Regions from separate parts of the Homo sapiens genome. Here region 2 is linked to region 1. Evidence: promoter capture Hi-C in 16 types of primary human blood cells and fetal thymus (Javierre and others, 2016). All regions are on one chromosome and are shown on one strand. Each heading gives the region's core, a stretch centred on a gene start or on the middle of the fragment in contact. The rest is flanking DNA. Distances are from core to core; before and after follow the strand shown.

Region 1 (6,959 bases), core at 2,042-4,541:
TGTTTTCCAAGGTGGCTGTACCATTTTATATCCTTACCAGCAATGAGAGTTTGCGTTACTCCATATTATCACCATTTTTTTTTTTTTGCCATTCCAAAAGTTATGTGGGTGTGTCTGTTTGGTTTTTAGAAATCTCCATTTCTTCTTCAAATATTTCCACATCCAAAATCTATTTTTTGGAATGACAAAATATATAGTAAATCAAAATCAAAGGTGGCGAGGGACAAAAGACTATACACTGGGGACAGTGTACACTGCTCAGATGATGGGTGCACCAAAATTCCAGAAATCACCGCTAAAGAACTTATTCATGTAACCAAACACCACCTGTTCCCCCAAAACTATTGAAATAAAAAAATAAAAAATTTACAAGAAAAAAATATATTTAATGGTTAAGGCTTTTACTTCTACTTCTTGATACCCTACCTGGGGATTCTACAAATCCTAAGAATATATGGTAGTTCTCAGATATTATTAATACAAATTGTTATCATTAAAAAAAAATCTCAATTTCTTCTTCAAATATTTCCACATCCAAAGTCTATTTTTTTGGAATGATGCAATATACAGTACATCAAAATCAAAGCTGTAAGAAAATGATTATAATTTTTAATCACATATTTAAGTCTAAGATAAGGGCTCTGGTGTCAAGTGGTCTCAAGCTTTTAGAGTACAGCTAACCATGCAGTTAACTATAGGCAGTCAATCACAGGAGCCATAAGAGCTCTCAATAGCCAAAGCTGGAACAATTTTAGCAAATAAATAAATGAAGTATAAAATAAATATTCAAGAGGCCATACTATATAAATAAATGGATAGATTAATAAAGACACACCTAGAAAAATCTCCCTTATAGAATAATTCCTAATAATTGATGTGCATGTTCTGCCCTCAAGAAACTAAAGCATAAATCCCTACTCCTAAAGTGATAGATATGCAAAGCTACTTCCTTTCAAAGGGTACAGTATGAAAAGAGAGGGAGATGTTTACAGCATACAGTGGAGAAACCCAAGAAACACTACCTTATTCAGGTGACCAAAGTTAACATCAATGACAATAAGTCATGTCCATAGTCTGCACCCTTAATGGGATGGCATTTTCCTCTGTTGTCTTCTTCCAAAAACATAAAATCCCAGTGTTAATATGGGAAAAACATCAGACAACTCTCTATTGAGAGACATCTATAAGATATGTGACCAATATGCCTCAATGCTGTCATGTATATAAAAAGTAAGGAAAATCTAAGAAAAGGTCATGGCCAAGAGAAGCACAAGGGAACATAATTAATATTATATCATGGATGGGATCCTTGAACAGGAACAGGCCACTGGATAAAAACTAAGGAAATATGAATAAAATATGGACTTCAGTTAATAAAGTATCAATATTGGTTTATTAGTGCAATGTATTTATCATTCTAGCGTAAAATGTTAATAATATGGAAACTGGGTGCAGAGTATGTGGGAAGGCTCTATACTATCTTTGTAATTTCCCTGTAAATCTAAGACTGTTCAAGAATTTTTAAAGGGGTTAGTTAAAACATTAAATTGCCTAGACACTCACATTCAAAGGTAAAAATTATTATACTGGATAAAAACTTACCAGCAATGTATTGTTTATATGAACCCATTTACATAATAGAACAAATTTAAGTTGAAAGTAAAAGGTGAGAAAAGGTACAGCAAACACTATCAACCAGAAATCTTGGTTGCATATATAAATATTAGACAAGAAGGGTTTAAGGATAAGGATACTTTAATATCAGAGAACACAGATTTAAAAAAATTAAAGTTGGGCCAGGCGCGGTGGCTCAAGCCTGTAATCCCAGCACTTTGGGAGGCTGAGGCGGGTGTATCACCAGATCAGGAGATCGAGACCATTCTGGCTAAGATGGTGAAACCCCATCTCTACCAAAAATACAAAAAAATTAGCCGGGCATGGTGGCGGAGCCTGTAGTCCCAGCTACTTGGGAGGCTGAGGCAGGAGAATGGCCTGAACCCGGGAGGTGGAGCTTGCAGCGAGCTGAGATAGAGCCATTGCACTCCAGCCTGGGTGACGAGCGAGACTCCGTCTCAAAAAATAAAATAAAGTAAAATAAAATAAAATAAAATAAAATAAAATAAATAAAAGTTGGTCGGGCGCAGTGGCTCATGCCTGTAATCCCAGCACTTTGGGAGGCCAAGGCAGGTGGATCACAAGGTCAGGATATCAAGACCATCCTGGCTAACATGGTGAAACTCCATCCCTACTAAAAATACAAAAAATTAGCCAGGCATGGTGGCAGGCGCCTGTAGTCTCAGCTACTCAGGAGGCTGAGGCAGGAGAATGGCGTGAACCCGGGAGGCGGAGCTTGCAGTGAATCGAGATCACGCCACTGCAGTCCAGCCTGGGCGACAGAGCGCGACTCCATCTCACAAAAATAAAATAAAGTCAATCAATAAATAAAAGTTAAAAAGGAATATTTTATAATAATAATGGCAATCTTTCAACAGGAAGACAAAAACAATTATAAATTATTTATATCTAAAATGTAAACTGACCAACAAGAATTGGCAAGGATATATATACACTTTTGACAAGAGTGTAATTGGTTTGTCAATATCTACTTAAGCCATATTTTGACAAGAGTGTAATTGGTTTGTCAATATCTACTTAAGCTATATATGTCTACCTAATAACCCTCCACTTTCAAATTTTTTTTTTTTGAGACGGTGTCTCCCTTTGTCGCCCAGGCTGAAGTGCAGTGGGGCTATCTCGGCTCACTGCAACCTTCGCCTCCTGCGTTCAAGCGATTCTTCTGCTTTAGCCTCCCGAGTAGCTGGGACTACAGGCGCGCGCCACCATGCCCGGCTCATTTTTGTATTTTTAGTAGAGACAGGGTTTCACCATATTGGCCAGGCTGGTCTCGAACTCCTGACCTCGTAATACGCCCACCTCGGCCTCCCAAAGTGCTGGGCCAATTTCACTTCTTAGTAAATAAGAGAAATGTATGCATACAGCTATTATGACGTGTGTAAGAGGGGTCGGAAAAGAATCTCTAAACAGGAATAGAAATGAATAAAAGCAGCTGTCTGAGTAGGGGAAAACTCGAGAGAAGCAGCGGAACTCTTGTTTCAGATCACGCGATTCTAACGAGAGTTATGTCAGGGCACCTCAGAGCATTCGGGATTTGGGCCAAGGCGACGAAGAATCTCGTCCGGGTCGACCTCATACGCACAGGCGCAGGCGCAGCGGGAAGTTCTTCCGTGCCAAGTCGTGCTTGTAAAGAAGCGGTACTTCCTCTTACTCCCGGGACAGAACTTCCCCTCAGGAGGGAGAACATCCGCCGAACGAAATGGAGAGCAAAAGACCGCGACTGCTCGAGGAAGCAGACAAGCAGAAAAAGACAGTCAGAGTGGGACTCAATGCACCTTCCATGCTACGAAAGAACCAGCTAGGTTTCCTCAGATTCGCCAACTATTGCCGTATAGCTCGCGAGCTGCGTGTAAGCTGCATGCAGAGGAAAAAGGTCCAGATTCATAGCTGGGATCCCTCCTCTTTGGCAAGCGACCGATTTAACCGCATACTGGCGAATACCAACACTGACCAGCTCTTCACAGTGAACCAAGTCGAAGCTGGAGGCTCCAAGTACGGCATCATCACCATGCGAGGCCTGACGACCCCTGAGCTCCGGGTATACCCGCACAAAACCCTCTACGTCCCTAATCGGAAGGTGAATTCTATGTGCTGGGCCTCACTGAATCACTTGGATTCCCACCTTCTGCTGTGCTTCGTGGGACTTGCAGATACTCCAAGCTGTGCCGTGCTGCTCCCAGCGTCGCTGTTCATAGGTAGCTTCCCAGGAATGCGTCGGCCTGGCATGCTTTGCAGTTTCCAGATCCCTGATGCCTGGTCCTGTGCCTGGTCCCTGAGCATCCACGCGTATCACTCTTTCAGTACAGGCTTGTCTCAGCAGGTCCTGTTGACCAACGTGGTGACGGGACACCAGCAGTCATTTGGGACTAGCAGTGATGTCTTGGCCCAGCAGTTTGCAATCATGACTCCTTTGCTGTTTAATGGCTGTCGCTCTGGGGAGATCTTTGGCATTGATCTGCGCTGTGGAAATCAAGGCAGCGGGTGGAAGGCCATTTGCCTGTCCCATGATTCAGCAGTGACTTCTCTGCAAATCCTCCAAGATGGCCAATTCCTGGTGTCATCAGACATGACTGGAACTATCAAGCTGTGGGACTTGAGGGCCACTAAATGTGTAACACAGTACGAAGGTCATGTGAATAACTCCGCCTACCTACCCGTGCATGTGAACGAAGAAGAAGGAGTCGTGGCGGCCGTGGGCCAGGACTGCTACACGAGAATCTGGAGCCTCCGTCATGGCCACCTGCTCACAACCATACCCTCCCCATACCCCGCCTCGGAGAACGACATTCCCAGTGTGGCCTTCTCTTCTCGCCTCGGGGGCTTCCGAGGAGCACCAGGGCTGCTCATGGCTGTCCGGGAGGACCTTTATTGTTTCTCCTACGGTTAATTCTTCAGGATGCAGCCCGGAGGAACGTGGATTTGACTTAAAGAAGTAAAGAGCATCGTATTACCGTTTCTATGAGCGCATTTTAAGAGATGTTCGGTGTTTGTAGATCCCATCCATCCGGCTGCTAGGGGTAAGGTGCTGTTTTATGTGAAGATAGTTCTGTAAAGTTGTTTCAGTTAAACTGGGCTGAGAGAGCTTGAAAGTCCTTTTCATAAAAGATAACTATTTCCTTTTCTTGTTGAATACCTTAGAATAGTTATCCCCCCCTTTTTTTTTTTTTTTAACAAAAAAACACTTTTCTAAGGACTGAAGATTGGCAAAAACTAAAATAAATTAAAACTGCTTACACCAGAAGCCTTTTAGAGAAGCATGAGACTGTTTGACTAGTCCTACCTGGGTTCCGGAAATACATGCATCATCTGTACTTGAAGAGGCCAGTGGGAGAGGAGAGGAGGGGGAGGTCATTTATCTGAGTCTCTCCAGAAGTTTTTAAGGCTACATTTTGGAATCATTAAACTTGGCCTTCTCAAACTCAATAGCAGATCTCTGAGATTCTCCTTTTATTATTTTCCATAGGCAATGGGAGGAAAGGTGGATCTTTTTAAATAATAGAAGTTTTAAACAGTCCTTAACGTGCTTTTGTTGAGGCATCTTCCAGAATGTAAGGTACAGCAGCTCCGGTTTCTATTATTGTGACTTGAATGTCAGGATTCAAGGGCTCAGTGTCAAAGATAATTGGCTTTGACTTTTTGTAATCTAGGAGCAGCAGTTTGTGAGATGTTTATTCAAAGTGTTAGCCTGTTTTTCTACCAACAATAAGCTAGAAAAGACAAAAAAAACAAAAAACAAAAAAACGTGTAATAAAGTTAGTGGCTACTTCTTAATAGCCAAAGCCTGGAAATGATCTCACTTTACAATATGCTAAAATTGATAAATAATTTGTGCTGTAGTCATACAATTGGATAAAGCATAATATAAAATAAGGCACAATTGCTATATGAAACTGTGGATTAATCTCAACATGTTGATTGTAAATGTAGGTAGAAATGAGTACAAACTGATTCAGTTCTAAAGTTCCAAAGCACTAAAAACTTATCTATGGTGATTACAGTTTGAATAGTAGGTATCTCTGTGGAAGGAAGAAAGGATATTGTTTGTTTTTTTCCCTTTTATTTTTAGGATATTGTTTGGAAAGTAACACGGGGAAACTTTAGAAATGCTGTTTTCTTTTTCTTGATCCTTGATACATACATATTTTGTATGTCTATACACTTCACACTTTATATAATACCTCAAAAATAAAAATATGAAAACAGTACACTGTTGTAGGTTGGTCAGGAAAGGGAATGATTGTGGCTTGGACCTGACTATGAGAAGTAGAAATAATCAGAAAAATCAGAAATGATTGCATTGGAAGATCATTCGAAGGTAGTATTAGTAAGATTTGCTGATGAGAGTAATCTAGAAAGTGAAAGACAGCATAAAGATTGCAGCTTTTTTGTTAACTTTAGGACTGGTGGATGGTTGGTGTCATTTACTAAAATGGGGAGGATTTGAGGTGAAAAAATTTTAGGTGAAGAGAATAATGCTGAGTTTTAGGCAACTATTAAAATGTCCATTCTGTAGATTAGAGGTGATGTCAGGACATAAATGAGGTTAATGTAATATTACATATTGATAGAGGAATAGGTCAATAGAGAAGATACAAAAGAGTGGTTAGGTGCATAGATTTTTGAAATCAGTTAAATTAGTTTTTGATACTTGATGTGTGACAGGGGAAACTGTGTAAGCTGTACTTGTTATTTCTTTGTAAAATGTCTTAGATAATAAAACTAAATCATAAAGTAGATATTGGTTTAAAGGATGTATACATTGTCCCTTTTACATTGTAAGCATTCAATAAGAACTAGCTGCGGATGTAATTTTTTTTAAAAAAGTCCAAAAGCAGCTATGGGCAGTTGACAAAAGAAAATGTAATGACTACGTAACTTGCGAATCTGTTTACCCTCACTTGCAAATAAAATAAGTGCAAATAAAGCAATGATTATGTATTGTTTTCATTCATTATTCTAGTACAATTTTTGTTTATAGCAGCTTTATTTATAAATGCCAAAAACCAGAAACAAACAAGATGTTCCTCAAAAAGTGATGGATAAACAAACTAGTATACATACTTATATGATGGAATATTACTTAGTAATAAAAATAAAATAGCTATTAAGCTGCAAAAAGACATGGAGGAATCATGAGTACTTATGAAGAAGCCAATCTCAAAATGCTATATATATATATGTATAATTCCAACTATATGGCAGTCTGGAAAAGACAAAACCATAGAGATGGTTAAAAATATTAGTGGTTTCCCAGATTTCAGCAGGAAGGGAAAGAGGTCAATAGGTGCAGTGCAGGCATTTTTAGGGTAGTGAAATTATTCTGC
Region 2 (6,959 bases), core at 2,680-5,179, 450 kb before region 1:
CGCCCTTGCCAGCTGCTTTACTCGCCTTTCCTCAGGCTGCTTCTTCTCCTTCTTTCCCCAACCCTTCCCCTGGCTCCCGCAGCCGGTTTCTTTCCAGCGCCCCCATCCCTCTCATCGGATGTTTTGTTAACACCCAGGACCATCTCTCCCGGGTCCCACTGTGCGCGTGTGTCCACCGTTCACTTGGAAAGTGAGCGTTTTCATCCCGCTTCTGTATTTGTCTAGTCCGCCACCAAAACCCTGTGCCTACTCCTCAAGCCTGGAAGGCGGAATGTAGCTATGGTAGAGGGGATTCAGGAAGACACCAGGCCACAGGCTCGGGACCCCAACAAAGTTTTGGACGTTCGGGATTTGCTATCTCAGTCTTCCCAAACTTGGTCAGCCCCGGCCACCGACCCGAGCCACCCAGGGGCGCTCAGTGACCAGGCGCTCCTCTGATTCCCAGCGCCCCTATTCTTCCAGGGCCGCTTCCTCAGGAATGCCGACCGCTCTCCAGGACCAGGGTTGGGCCGCTCCCCAGGCCCCACTAGGGTCCGCAGCCTGAGCCCCACCCAGCTCATGGCTGGAGAGGGGCGCACTCGTTTTTAGATGCGAGGCGGCAGGGTGGGCGGGAAGAAAGAATGGAGCCGCCCAAGTTCCTGGGTGCCTGCCTCGGGGATGCGGGATGGGAGATACTGTCGAAGAGCTGTGCTCAAACCAGGGCCCTTGTCGCGGGCTGGATACCTCCGGTGCGCCCTACCGTAGTGGGGAATCCTTTATGAGCCGTCTCCTTTAAGAAGCGCGCGTGCGTGTGTGTCGGGCTGTGTGTATGCGCGCGTGTGTGTGTGTGTGTCGCGGTGTGTCTCTGTGTGTGTGTGTGTGTGTGTGTGTGTGCGCGCGCGCGCGCGCGCCAAGGGCCCCGAGAGCCAGGCAGACCCCGGGAAGGAGGAGTTATGTAGATTACGGATGAACATTCTGGAGGGGAGCGAGGAGAGGAGGGAAGGAGAAGCAGAGGCGAGAGAGTGAGGAGCGGCGGAGGCCCTTCCCGCAGGAGCTGGGGGCGGCGGCGGCGGCGGAGGAGGAGGAGGAGTAGGCAGTGCAGGAGGAGGACGCACGGGCTGGAGGCGGCGGCGGCGGCGGCGGCTGCTGCTGCTGCGGCTGCGACTAGGCTCTTTGAGCCGGAACCGCCGGTGAACTTAGGCGCCACGTTCCCGGTGACTGACCCCGGAGGATGGTGAACAGGAACTACTGCTGACCCTGTCTTCGCCGCTGCCTCTCGGGGGCTGCCGAGCGCGGGGCCCCTGTCTCCTCCCCTTGCCCGGCTGTGGGTGAACCTGCAGGCTCCTTACCCACCCGGAGGACTTTTTTTTGAAAGGAAACGAGGGAGGGAGGGAGAGGGAGAGAGGGAGAAAACGAAGGGGAGCTCGTCCATCCATTGAAGCACAGTTCACTATGATCTTACTCACATTCAGCACTGGAAGACGGTTGGATTTCGTGCATCATTCGGGGGTGTTTTTCTTGCAAACCTTGCTTTGGATTTTATGTGCTACAGTCTGCGGAACGGAGCAGTATTTCAATGTGGAGGTAAGAGTGCGAGGGCTTTCTTCCTCCCCCCGCTGCCTGGGCTGCTCCCTGAAACATTTCCTTCACTCCTGGGATCCTTGTAGCTCAGAGCAGCCTGGGTCCCAGCACGTTGTTTCCCTTCCAGCTGTGGAGACCCTGGTTCAGTTTAAGGGTGTTTTAGGTGACGGATGCGTGTGAGACCCAGAATCCGTTATCCCCGGCAGCACAAAGCACGATGCTGCGCGCTCAAAGACACAATTGTAGCCGGTCCATGCTTTTCACCCAGGGAAGAGAAGTCCTACATATAGCAACCGTGTAGCTAAATAAGGCAGCTTGAGTTTATGATGGATAAACAGCTCGGGGAAGACAGAATTAATTCCCTGGCATCATGTGCTGCCTAGGTATTGTTCCTGAAATCTTTCTCCCAGTGTTTGGTGCCTAACAAAGGAGGTTAAAAATCAAAGAATCTAGAGGAGAGCGTGGGAACACTAGATGTGTTTAATAACATTACTTTGTGATAAAACACTTGAGAATCTTTTTTTTTTTCATTTAGACATAACTTAATACACTGTAACTAGATCTGGCTACACAGAGGACATGAAATCCATCTCTTTTTAAGTGTCTTCTTTCCCCCTCCCCCGCCAATTGAAAATAAACGTGGCCCAATGTAATAGTTTTGAGGTGTGTTTTTAATTTGATTTCACACTCTCGTGGCAAAACGGGGAGGTTTTAGACTGTCATTTGCTTTACTTTGATAGCTTTGGGAACAGACGGCACAAAGCAAAAGGGAACTTAAGGATAGGGACTTGTCAGACCTCTGCCAAAGTACTCTTCCTGTCATCAAGTCAGCACTGAAGCCAGTAATGTGCAATAAATCAATGAAAGCGTGTATACACCTGGGCTGTAACACAACTTTATCACATATACGGTGGGATACAAAGCCAGTAAGAGGGTCTTAGTAACATTTACTTCTTTTGATTAGATCTGATGTCCTCTGAACTCTCAAACGAATTATGAATAATTTTTTAAGGAATAATGTGATTTTTTTTCTTATATTGTTGATATTATGAAGCTTATTGTCATTTTGCTGGGAGTGTGTGTTTACACAATAGCAAGACCTGTTGCACAGTATTTGAACATGCTTCATGTAACCAATTGATACACAGAGTGTGCATAATAAATGCCATGTGTAAAGGCATATTCTGAATATAACTGTGTTTATAGAAACTGTTCTTAGGACTTCATGTAATAAGTCATGGTTAGTACAAAAAAAGTATTTGAAAAAGTAAGAGCTATTATCAAGAGTTAAAGACCTTCACAGATATTAAGTATGAATAAATTACACAAAAAAAACCCAATTTGAAAACTAAAAAGGTTTAACCCTTTGAAAAATACAACTTTATTTTTCTAGATAAAAAGAGAAAGGGGCTTGAAAGTCCAGACTTTTTTTATTGCAAATTTGAACTTTTGGAATTACGTGCCACAGATGGATTTTTGTACCTAACATTTAAATCAAGAGATAATTTAATGTTGAAATGAAGGATTAGTTCATAGGCTGGAGGAATTAAAGTGGCAAGCTGTTATTTATAATGTTATAAACAGAAGGGCCTATTGCTTCAGGTTGGTGGTGATGGTGGTGAGGTGGAGTGTGTGGGAGGTGGTAAAAGTAAGTGCAAGGTTGTGTCTTTCTGAATAAGGGAAGGGAAGGACAGCCTGGATTGATGGTTACCTGCTTTAGGAAAGTATTAGATTTGCTTTCAGAGGTTAGGATAACATGAGTTTTGATGATTATTAGATTTTTTGTGAGACTAAACATAAAAGATTGTATTTCTTTATATTGGAATCCCTCAGTAAGTTCAGATATTATTATGCAAAAAAGTTATGATTGTACTAACAAATTTTATTTAATTTTGGATTCCAATGACCCCTTCTCTTTCTTCATTAAGATGTGTGGGGAAAAATGGTTTATGGAGAAAATAGTTATTTTCCCATTTTTAGAGGATTTAAATTATTCTAGTCATATTTATTACACAGATTTAAGCCTGACAGATAAGTCATGTGCCATCTCAGACCTTTAAAATCTTGCTTAATAAAATGGGAAGTTTTTCATGGTTTAGAGCAGATTATATGCCTTAGTTTATGTTATCCTCAAATAGTATTTTTAAGCTCTTGAGCTCATTTTGGTTGGATTTATAAGCTTCTTTATGTGTAATGATACCCCCCCTTTTTTTTAGATTGTAGGAGTAGCTGCTAGTGAAATGGAAATATTGTCAAGAACACAGAATGACGGGATGTTTTCTGACATAAATTTCTGCCTGATTCACTTCTATTTGACTTTTTTTTGATAGGAAACACTAATGGGAAGAATGGTCCATCACTTCCTCTCCAGAAGAGGCACTTACATTGTGTTCCTCATTCTGGTTGCAAAACATACACACTGGGAATGTTTTATTTGATTGATTCTCAAGGATAGTCTTAAAATAAACAGTAATGATATCAGTCATGCATGAAGCTCATATGATCATAAAATTTTTTTTCAGTAAGCACAGAAAGTTTTTATAGTTGGAACAAAGCTTCAGGGGGATGCTTTTTATGCTGACAACTAAGATTACATTGCTTTATTCATCACTAAACTTAACAATTTGTGGTCCCCCCATTCTTTTTTATCTCTGTGATTTAAGGTTTAAGACTGTATATTTTTCCCAGGGAAGTGGGGGATTTGAAGAGGGTGGTTGGCTAGAGGTATTCATGTTAACTCTTTCCTGTCTGATTTTTAAGGGTATAAATATTTGGAGTTGTCAATTATCGAAGTGAGAGATATTTTTAATATGGTGATGAAATCCTGTTACAGAAAGAGAGTGCATTTGGTTTTGCTTGGTTAGCTTGTTTTTTAAGAAGCAAAAAGGAACATCTCTTACAGCTAAGAAAGGGTCAGACACTACCAGGAGTAGTACTATGGAAGAGATTCAATACACTGCTCTACTTTCATTTCAAGTGGAACACTTTTATTGTTAAGTTTTCAGTATATACTCACTTAGGTAAAGATATCCATATATCATTGGATCCCTTTTTTAAGAGTTGGTCTTTCAGTATGTGATAATTAGCACGATGCAAGGGAACATTGCTAATATTAACTAAAAGTCAAAAACTGTTGTCATTGGACAGCAGTCTGAATCAGAGGTGTTCATTGGTCAGAAGCAGCTAAATTATTAACAAATAATTATTAATGTCTACTGTCTTAAAAATCATTTTGTTCCTAAAATAGCTATCTCATATAGGGATTTTCATGATCCTGTGGCTTTTTTTTTTGGTATGCTGTGAGCATTTTTGTTATGAAATTTGAGACAGAACATAGTTCATGATAGTAATACCTCTCATATCGTCAACTCTGAATAGTTTGTCAGATATTACTTATGTGAACAGCATATTCCTTATCAATTTCTAAACAATAGCATACATTTCCAGGGAGGAAAAAATTTTCAAGCTGATTTAGTGGTAAAATAAAAACATATAAAATTCTAAATGATGCATATATCAAAGCATAAAATGATTACTCTTTTGTGACAAAAAAAGTCTTGATAAGGCAAAAATTGATTTTGTTGTTCCTGATTAAAGAAAGCAGAGATATTTTAGATTTCAAAGGGGTCTTTTATGACAAATATGAATTGAGTATAACTATTTCCTAAATTTTTCTTGCAATATATTTACTTAACTGATTTAAGATTTATTCAAACCTTTGTCAGGTTTGCCTGCATGTACCTAAAAAGTCAGAGTTTGCATTGGGTACTTTTGTATTGCATATAAATTTGGTAATAATTAATCATGAGACATTTCAGAGATAAAAATTATATTTTATAGAATTTTACATTCTTATGTTGGGACACTGTTGCTTTTCTCTTGTTCTTTGCTTGCTTAAAAAATCAAGATGCATTATTTCATTTGGACATGGAAGAATGGTGGTACCATGCCTTCTTGAGTAAAGGTTGTCTCCTGAATATAGCCTATAATTCTCCACTGTAGCAGTTTCTAACTGGTCAACAACAGGGGCTGTATGACTGATTCATCAAGATTTTTATGTACCGCAAGATTGCAGGTTTAACAAAACGTCTCAAATATGCTGGCTGTTTAGGGTGCTCATAAGGGCCCAAAGCTATGATAAGGAGAACAAGAGTCTCAATTGTTTTAAGGTTCTCTAGCTTCTCCTACATGTTCTACCTTGACTATGCCTCTCTGTTCAGAGTTGCCTGGGCCGGATCACTCAGGTCTATGGTTATTCATGAAACCATTACATGACGTGATCATAGCTCACTACAGCCTCAACCTCCTGGGCTCAAGCAATCCTCCCACCTTAGCCTCCTGAGTAGCTGGCACTACAGGCACATACCACCATACCCAGCTTTTTCTTTTTTCTTTTTTTTTTTTTAATTTTCATTGAGACAAGATCTCACTATGTTGTCCAGGCTGGTCTCAAACTCCTGAGCTCAAGTGATTCTCCCTCCTTGACCTCCCAAAGTGCTGGGATTACAGACATGAGCCACCACATCTAGCCACATGTCATTATTATTAATAGAAAATAAAGGTCGATAAGGAAGTAATTGGCACCATAGCATCTAATGACATAAACATCTATCAGGTTAGGACATATCAATTGGTATAGGAAGATTTTATTTAAACACCTTTCCATTTATTAAAAATATAATGTACTGAAAATCAACCAAGCTAACATCAGTACATTTTCTTCCCGTAGGTTTTTCTTAGACAGTTTAGTTCAAGAATGTGATTTTCACATTTTGTCATGTCATCTGTTACTATCATAGAATATCAAGTTCAGCTCACACCTTCTTTTACAACATCACGTTCGCTGAAATCTGTTCATCTTTTCTAATGCCATAGAAAATAAATAGGCCTTTATAATTCAGTAGGCCTTTTTATTTTAATTGGATCAAACCCCAAGTGCTTCCTTTTCATAATATGGGTAGGATTCAATAAGAAACTTAAGCCAGCTCTGTTATACCTCAGATTCTGAACAACAACAAAAAAGTTTTTCAAAAATTATGTATAGGGAGGGATAAGAATTGACTGAAAAAGAAATTAAAGTGTTTTCTACAATAGTAAAAAATAGTGAAAAACATATCGTGTCCATATAACATTGGGAATGGCAAGATAGCTAGCAATGTGGTGTAATTGAGCACTGGGGGAGAAGTTGAAGGAAGTGGGCTTTAACTCAGGTTCTTTTGCTAACCTGGCTTTGAACTTGGACATGTAACTTATTTGATATCTCATCTGCAACAATGAGATGTGAACTAAACTGTCACTAAGGCCATTTCCAAATTTGAAATTTTATAGTCGTAAGCCTAGAAGCTTTAGTTTATGTAGCCAAAGGGGATGGGAAATGCAATATTGACCCTGTAAATTTG

The links. Contacts are between HindIII fragments. The CHiCAGO score rates a contact against its expected background, and 5 or more counts as called.
Region 2: a fragment that was not itself captured here is called in contact with the fragment with the promoter of DCAF4L2 in region 1 in 1 of 17 cell types (endothelial precursors); the score reaches 5.1 in endothelial precursors.

Annotation. Positions count from the first base shown.
Region 1 is chr8:87,870,347-87,877,305 of GRCh38, reverse strand. It overlaps DCAF4L2 (DDB1 and CUL4 associated factor 4 like 2), which reads left to right and starts at 3,291. Exons shown (of 1, transcript NM_152418.4): 1 at 3,291-6,559. The coding sequence starts at 3,335. The coding sequence ends at 4,522. The HindIII fragment of the contact is 8,203 bases long and covers 665-6,959 here.
Region 2 is chr8:88,321,679-88,328,637 of GRCh38, reverse strand. MMP16 (matrix metallopeptidase 16) reads left to right here and starts at 1,155. Exons shown (of 10, transcript NM_005941.5): 1 at 1,155-1,563. The coding sequence starts at 1,432. It overlaps LOC105375630 (a long non-coding RNA gene), which reads right to left and starts at 794. Exons shown (of 8, transcript XR_001745653.3): 1 at 740-794. The HindIII fragment of the contact is 376 bases long and covers 3,742-4,117 here.